Regions from separate parts of the Homo sapiens genome. Here region 2 is linked to region 1. The links are contacts of gene promoters, found by promoter capture Hi-C in human tissues and cell types (Jung and others, 2019). All regions are on one chromosome and are shown on one strand. Each heading gives the region's core, a stretch centred on a gene start or on the middle of the fragment in contact. The rest is flanking DNA. Distances are from core to core; before and after follow the strand shown.

The links. Contacts are between HindIII fragments. The study calls those that stand out against the background at their distance.
Region 2: a fragment that was not itself captured here is called in contact with the fragment with the promoter of PPRC1 in region 1 in 1 of the 25 tissues and cell types used here (stomach).

What each region holds. Positions count from the first base shown.
Region 1 is chr10:102,131,004-102,134,902 of GRCh38, reverse strand. It overlaps PPRC1 (PPARG related coactivator 1), which reads right to left and starts at 1,863. Exons shown (of 14, transcript NM_015062.5): 1 at 1,682-1,863. The coding sequence starts at 1,834. RefSeq lists silencers at 1,191-1,310, 1,341-1,390, 1,601-1,780 and an enhancer at 1,761-2,040. The HindIII fragment of the contact is 12,055 bases long and covers 1-3,899 here.
Region 2 is chr10:102,656,526-102,660,424 of GRCh38, reverse strand. It overlaps TRIM8 (tripartite motif containing 8), which reads right to left. Exons shown (of 6, transcript NM_030912.3): 6 at 2,107-3,678. The coding sequence ends at 3,071. Among named protein-coding and RNA genes, the nearest start is that of TRIM8, 14 kb to the right of the region's middle. The HindIII fragment of the contact is 6,582 bases long and covers 1-3,899 here.

The sequences.
Region 1 (3,899 bases), core at 614-3,113:
AAATTACTACTTAACTATTATAGCTGGATCTTGGATCCTTCCTGACTCTCCCTGTGCTATTTGGGAATTCAGTGATGGGTGAGGTCAGGTGTGAGGGTGTGTCTCTGACTGGACACCTGATGGAGGTGAAGATGAATGGTTCATAGAGAGCTGGGCATTGCCTTGAGATTCTGGCCTAGACCCTGGGGCTCTGGTAGGTAGGCAGCACCAGCCCCAAAAGATGTGACCTCTGAGAAAGTAGGGGAGAAGGGATCAGCGCTCCCAAATTCTTGCCCCAGAAACCATTCTCCCCTGGGCAAGGGCCTGGATTGGTCTGCCGGACCTGATATTACCAGGCAGCCTGCAGCCCAACTCCCACCTAGTAACACACAAAAAATGCTGTCAAGGACTCAGCTTAATTGTTTAAGAGAGGTAACAGTTCAAACTAATTCCTGCCCCTTCTACCCTGGGTGGAAACTTTTAAGAAGCCCTCCACTGTAGAGTAGAACAATAACACTTTTTGAAGGCCAAGAAAAAAATATCTAACAGAATCCTCCTCATCCAGTGTATGTTCAACTGTTGAACATGTTGAACAGTTCTCAAACCGCCTCCAACTTTTCCCATCCCCAGCAAAAAATCCGAAGAGCCTTAAGTACGGACCACCCCAGTTTCTGCGTGTCAGATTACAGGAGCATGCCTTCCCAAAAGAGATGCTGGAGGAAAAAGTGAGGAGAGGATTCCCTTTCCCTTTCTTAACCTTGTCCCAGGTGTATGTTGACACTCCCCATACCCCTTGAATCACTAATAAGGCAAGACTGCAAGGCAACCAAAACGCCAATGCCCGTGACTCACAACCCACCCCAAGCCGGTCAGACGGAAGCGCCACAAACTCACTCCTCCACAACCCTTCAGCCTCAGCCCTCTACCCTCCCCATCACACTCAGCCATCCGCAGGGAACAAACTCCCGCAACATCTGGAGAGTCCTTCACCATCCGCAGTGGAGAGACGTTGCGGACCCAAGCAGCAGGGAAAAAAAAAACCTCCAAGGCTCTGAACAAAGTTGACTCTAGCAGCCCTTACCTTCCTTCCCGGCCCGGGCCTCCAGCCCCGGCAGGAGATGGCGGGACCCGTGGAGACACACCCAGTTCGCGTCAGCCAGGCTCCAAGGCCGATACTAGATGCCCGACAGCCTGGGACGGGAGCCACGTGGACGTTCCTTCCCCGCCCCCACGTGGACCCGCTGCCTGCGCCCCCCTCCACCAGGAGCCCGACCCACGTGGATGCCCGGGCCGCCTAGAGGGGGAGGGGAGGCAGACAAGTTCTCCCGGGAAAATTGCTCCCCCAACCCCACGTGGCTCCGAAAAGGGAACTGCGGCGCCGGGCTCGGGGAGCCTCACTGGGCATCCTTACATGGAGGTCTCAGCCTTCGACCCCAAGTCCGAACCCCTGACCCCCAGCCGCGGGTTATGTTTCCGACACCCCGCTCTCCCCCTCCGGCGTCCCCCAGGAATGGCCGTAGAGACGCTGCCTCTGCCCGCCTACCCCCAGCAAACGGCCTAGGGCCCACTTGCTCCGGCCCGGCTCCCGCGGCCACCCGGCATCGACTCTCAGGCGCTTCCTCTCTTTCCTGTGGCGTCCACGTGTCACCGCCCGGCACACACCGCTTTGCTGCCTGTCGCGGGCCGCCAGCCAACCTCTCACCTGCTCGCCGCCGCTCACAGCGCCCAAAGTCCCATACGGCGCTTGGCTTCGACTTCCCCAACCACTGCCGCGGGCTCCCCCGCCAGGGTCCGGACCGGGGCCCCCACTCGGGGGCGGCGCGACTCCGTCTCTCCGTCCCCGGCGCGCCGCCATCTTGGCCCCTGAACACCCAGCGCTGCTCTGATCGCTGGCGCCGCCTCGCCCAGCCGATTGTGGGAAAGGAACTACAACTCCCGAATGACACTGCAAGACTACGAATCCCAGAGAGCCGTGCGGCGAGACCCACTTGCACCCTGGAAGAAGGCCCTGGCCTCGCGCGAAGGTTCCTGGGAGTAGTAGTCCCTTTAAGTGGGGACCGTTTGGCACTAGCTGCAGGCATCCTGTAGGGCTTAGTTTTGCGTTACACTGGGATACCGATTTAGGGAGCGCTCAGCAGTTAGGGGGAAAGTTAACATTTGCGTATTTTATTGTCGTTAACTTGTCCAACTGTTGGAACGTCCTCTTTGACGTTCTACCTGCTGTACGTTCCTTTCACCTTAGTCCAAGTGGGGCCAAGTGGGCCTGTATATGTTTTGAAACACCACCCCCTAGTGGGCACTTGCGCTCCAAGCGCTAATCCTCACCTAATCCCATATTGCGGCAGTACTGCAAACTTAATCGGAAAATGTCGCGTTCTCCGCCCTCTCTGCTACTACTCAGAAACTTACGTTGCCTTCTCTATCAAATTTGTTTCTTGCTGTTTCAGGTCTCCTTGCTGTTCCCTAAAGACAACAGGTGTTCTCCTGCCTATATGTCGACCTGGAATACTTGAACCTCAAAACATTTCATGCCTTATTTAATCTAGGAAAGGCTTTGGTTGTCCTAGCCAAGAGGGATCCCGCTCTGCGTTTCTACGGTCCATCACTGTCTCTACTCTTCATTCATTTGCCACTTAAAAGCTACTTCATATTTGCTATTTTTAAATAACTTTTTACAAAGCACAAAAATTATTTCAAAAAGTACAAGACTGTTTAGAGGAAAAAAAGTAGTAGGCCTGCAAATTATAGTTCTACTGCCCAGATTTAAACCCCTTGTTACTTTTAGTGTGTATTCATTGACGCTTTTTTCTATGAATGGAAAAATATATAGGGGCACAAATTGGTGATTTGCTTTTTTTATGTAACAATATGTTAATCCACTCACTAGCTAAATATTTACTGAGCCTTTAGCACCAGTTCTATTTTATGAATGTATTGTTATTTAAATTATATTGAAGTTGTTTCTGGCCGTGGCTCGGTGACTCACACTTGTAGTCCCAGCACTTTGGGAGGCTGAAGTGGGTGAATCACTTGAACTAAGGAGTTTGAGACCAGCCTGGACAACATGGCAAAACCCCACCTCTACCAAAAATTTAAAAATTAGCTGGACATGGTGGCACACATCTGTGGTCCCAGCTACTCGGGAGGCCGAGGCAGGAGGATTGCTTGAACCCAGGAGGTGGAGGTTGTAGTGAGCCAAGATCATGCCACAGCACTCCAACTTGGGTGACAGAGTGAGACTTCTTCTCAAAAATAAATAATATTTAAGTTGTTTACAGTTTCTCACTATTACATATTATTATGATGAACACCCTTGCATATGTCATGTACATGTACCTTTGCACTTTTGTGCAATCTTTCTGTGGAATAGTTTCCATGAAATTCAAGTGCCGAGTTAAACAATGCATGTATTTGAAATACAGTAGAAAATTGCCCTTTAGAAATATTGCATCACTATACATCCCCACACATGTTCATGAAAAGAGAGGACCTTTTCTGGACCTTTTCTTAGATGTTCTTTCTTTTTTTTTTTTTTGTTAGACAATAGGGTTTTACTCTGTCACCCAGGGCTGCAGTGTGGAGTGCGGTGAGCAAGAGTGCCGTGGCAGATCATAGCATAGCTCACTGTGATCTCTCAAGCTCAAAGGATCCATCTGCCTCAGCCTCCAGAGTAGCTGGGTACTACAGGTACACACTGCCATGCCCAGCTAATTTTTTTTTTTTTTTTTTTGAGATGGAGTGTCACTCTGTCACCAGGCTGGAGTGCAGTGGCGCGATCTTGGCTCACTGCAACCTCCACCTCCCAGGTTCAAGTGATTCTCCTGCCTCAGCCTCCCGAGTAGGTGGGACTACAGGTGCCCACCACCACACCCAGCTAATTTGTTTTTGTATTTTTAGTAGAGACAGGGTTTCACCATGTT
Region 2 (3,899 bases), core at 1,400-3,899, 520 kb before region 1:
TACTGCTCCTGGCTCCCTGCCACACTGGGGAGGGGAACAATGAAGCAAGGGTCCACCACCCCACCCGAGTCATCCTCTACTCCCTCAGGGCAGGAAGGCGGAGGCAGTTAGCAAGACCAAGGCTATGGTTTGGTCTGGCCAGCCCCAAAGTCTTTATTTTTCTTTTTTTTCTTTGAGACAGGATCTTGCTCTGTTGCCCAGGTTGGAGTGCAGTGGCAAGATCTCAGCTCACTGCAACCTCCACCTCCCAGCCTCAATCAAGCAATCCTCCCACTTCAGCCTCCAGAGTAGCTAGGACCACAGGCCCGTGGCACCACGCCTGGCTAATTTTTCGTTTTAGTAGAGATGGGGTTTCACCATGTGGCCCAGGCTGGTTTTGAACTCCTGAACTCAAGTGATCCATCCACCTTCAAACTGCTGGGATTCCAGGCATGAGCCAACGTGCTCGGCAAGCCTTTATTTTTCTGAGGGGAGGGGTGGCTAGGGGTCAGTGAGGCTTGGACCACTGGCATGGGACTTTTTTTTTTTTTTTTTGAGATGGAGTCTGGCTCTGTCACCCAGGCTGCAGTGCAGTGGCACGATCTCGGCTCACTGCAACCTCTGCCTCCCAGGTTCAAGCGATTCTCCTGCCTCAGCCTCCTGAGTAGCTGGGACTACAGGCGCCCACCACCATGCCGGCTAATTTTTGTATTTTTAATAGAGATGAAATTTCACCACGTTGACCAGGCTGGTCTCGAACTCCCGACCTCAGGTGATCCGCCCATCTCAGCCTCCCAAAGTGCTGGGATTACAGGCATGAGCCACCGCGCCTGGCAGGAATGGGACTTTACAAGGCTGTCTGCCTTGTCCTGGGCTTCCTGGGGTGGGTGGCATTCAGGCCCGGATTCTGCCCAAACAAGAAGAAAGATAACTAGGCACCCAGCAGATTACAGAAGTGCATGGGCTGCGGACTTACAGCTCTGTGCAGAGCATCAGGCAACAACCGGAGCCTTTTTGAAGGTGAGGCCCCTCTCCAGAGAAGGGCCTTGGGGGTGTCCCAGCTTCCTCTCCCCGCAGTGGCCTCTGTGACAAGCAGCAGGGAGGACCCTGACCACCACAATGGCAGCACTTCTCTAAACCCAGGATATGGGAGAATAGAGTTAAAAATGCAAATTCCTGGGCTCTCAGAGATTCCCGATGAGTCTAAGCTAGGCCTCAGGAATCAGCACCCTTACCCTTTTTTTTTTTTTTTTTTTGAGACAGGGTCTTGCTCTGTTGTTTTGTTGCACAGGCTGGAGTGCAGTGACTTGATCTAGACCTACTGCAACCTCTGCCTCCCAGGCTCAAGCAGTTCTCCCACCTCAGTCCCAGAGTAGCTGGGACCACAGGTGTGGTGTGCCCCACCACGCCCAACTAATTCTTGTATTTTTTGTAGAAACAGGGTTCCGACATGTTGCCCAGGCTGGTCTCAAACCCCTGAGCTCAGGCAATTTGCCTTGGCCTCCCAAAATGTCAGGATTACAGGCGTGAGCCACAGCAAGGAATCGGCCCTTTTAACAAGCTCCCAAGACATGCTTGAGACTTTGAGAAGCTCTGCCGAAGTGGATGGGGGCAGGATGTCTTTTTCATCTTGCCACCCCACCTCCACCCCTCCCAAGGCCAAAGCCCCAAGTCCAAAGGAAGTATGGACCTGAGTGGTCCCCTCTCCCTATGGGGTCCAAGGCCCAGCTAGATTACATTCTGTCTCTATGCCTGCAGCCCTGCACAGTGCCTGGCACGTAGTGTGCACTCAAATATTTGTGGCCTGAAGGAGGTAAACTTTGCAAGACTCATAGAAAGGTGTTCCTCCTTCGTCCTCAGCTAAGAGCACATTGGCAGAACCTCAAAGAGATGCCGGGGCCCAGGTGGCATGGGGCTGGGCCTGGGAGGCCCTGGGCAAATATTTGTCAAATGAACCCAAGGCCAAGAGCAGACGGAGTCAGTGCCCGACGAACTGACATTCACAGGCCTGGAACCAGCTGGACCCAGGGGAGCAAAATCAAGGCAAGGAGGGCAGGGGCCCCTCCCCACACCGACGCCTGAAGATCCCAGGCCTGGGGGGGATAGGGGAACAGGCGAGGCAGGGAGTGGGACTGCGCCATCATGTTTATTAGAAGGTTGGATTTTGGTGTGTGCTCTAGACAGATACAGAATAAATACCTGCGCCTTGAGAACAGGAAGTCCACGATTCATACAAAGTGCTCACTACAGGAAGTTGCTGTGTCAAAATCCAGGCAAGGACCCAACTCCGGGCAGCCCCTCCTCCCTGCTGACCTCAACAAGGGCTGTGCTATTGTTTTTTATTTTATTATTTTATTTCTCTTTATTATTATTAATATTATTATTATTTGCTTTTGCTGTGGTCACTATCATTGGCAAAGTTCCTTTTCCCCTTTCCTGGACATAGGGGTCCTGTCTTTAAAAGATTCCACTCTGAGGCTGAAGGTGCCAAAAGCTGCTTGAGAAGTGGCCTTTGAACTCCGTCTGGGAAGATGGTGAGGAGAAGGAAGCAGGAGAAATCATTCTTGGTTTAAAAAAATTTAAAAAAACAAAAACAAAAGTCGCACAATCTAAAGGTCATTCCTTACTCGATCAGTGATCAAACTGCCCAAAAGGAAAACAAGAGGAGAAACAAGCCCGGGGCCCTGGGCGTTCCTCCCGGGTGGGGTAAGAAGGGTGGGACCCCCAAGCTTTCAGGGAAGCCGAGGTTCCTTCCAGCCACGGGGGTGTGAAGGGGAAGGAGTAGAGGAAAAAAGGAGAAACAGAGAGAGAGCTCAGCGCCTCGACACAGACACTTTCCCATCTCCAGGGCCACCTGCCGTCCTGGCCCAGGCCAGCTCCCACTGTCACCTCTGCGTCCAGGAGATTCATAATAAAAAAAAATCAAAAACAAAGCCAAAACCAAAACAAAATCCAAAAGGAAAAGACCTGGGGCAATGGAATGAGGAAGAGGGGAGGCGAGGAAGGTAGAAGGGCAGGTCTCTGGATGCATAACTCCCGAGCCCGGGGGCTGGGGAGGAAGATTCCCCAGCGCCCCGCCGCCTGCGTGGCGTTAGCTCGTCACGTAGTGTTTGGTGGACGGCTGCCCATACACCCTGTAGAAATCCTGGTGGCCGGGCTGCTGGGAGGCGTCAAGCCAGTCTCTGACCGCCAGGCTGGGAAGGGACTGGGGGACGGAGGGTGTGGGCGGGAGCGGGTGTGAGTACTCCTGCGAGGGCACTGTCCAGGGAAAGTGGCCGGAGCGGGGGTAGGGCTGGTGGCCGCCATGGTTGGCCACGGAAGAACAGTAACAGTTGTCCACAGAACAGACGAGAATCTTGCGGCCGCCATACTGGGGGAGCATGGGCTGCTGGGCGGCGGAGCCATTGGGATACTGCGATGGGGGGAACACGGGGCTTGAGTGCACTGGTTGGGCGCCGCCCGGCAGGGCCACCAAGTGCTGCGTGGAGCTGCAGGGCCCCAGGGGCTGCCCAGACTGGCCCTCACCGCTGGCTGTGCCCGCCGCCCCGTACTGGCCGCCCACAGGGCCCGACGACGTCTCTAGGAAACTGGCCTCTGGGAAGGCCGTTGAGTGCTTGCGCTTTTCCGCCCCAGAGCTGCTCACGCCGCAAGGGTACAGGGGGACACTCTGCAGGAAGGGCACCGGCGTGCTGAAGGGGCCTGTGGAGAGTTGGGGCAAAAGTCGCCAAAGCTCCCACCCCAAGCAACCCAGGCCTCCTCTCCCTGGGTTGGACCTGGGGACCATTGACACCTAGAGGCCCAAGAATGTTACATCTCAGGTGATGCTTGCTCCTCTACCATTAGGAGGTACAGAATAGTTATATCCCCACTTTAAGCTGAAGAAATGGAGGCTGGGGAGGTCATGTTGCTTACCCACTGTC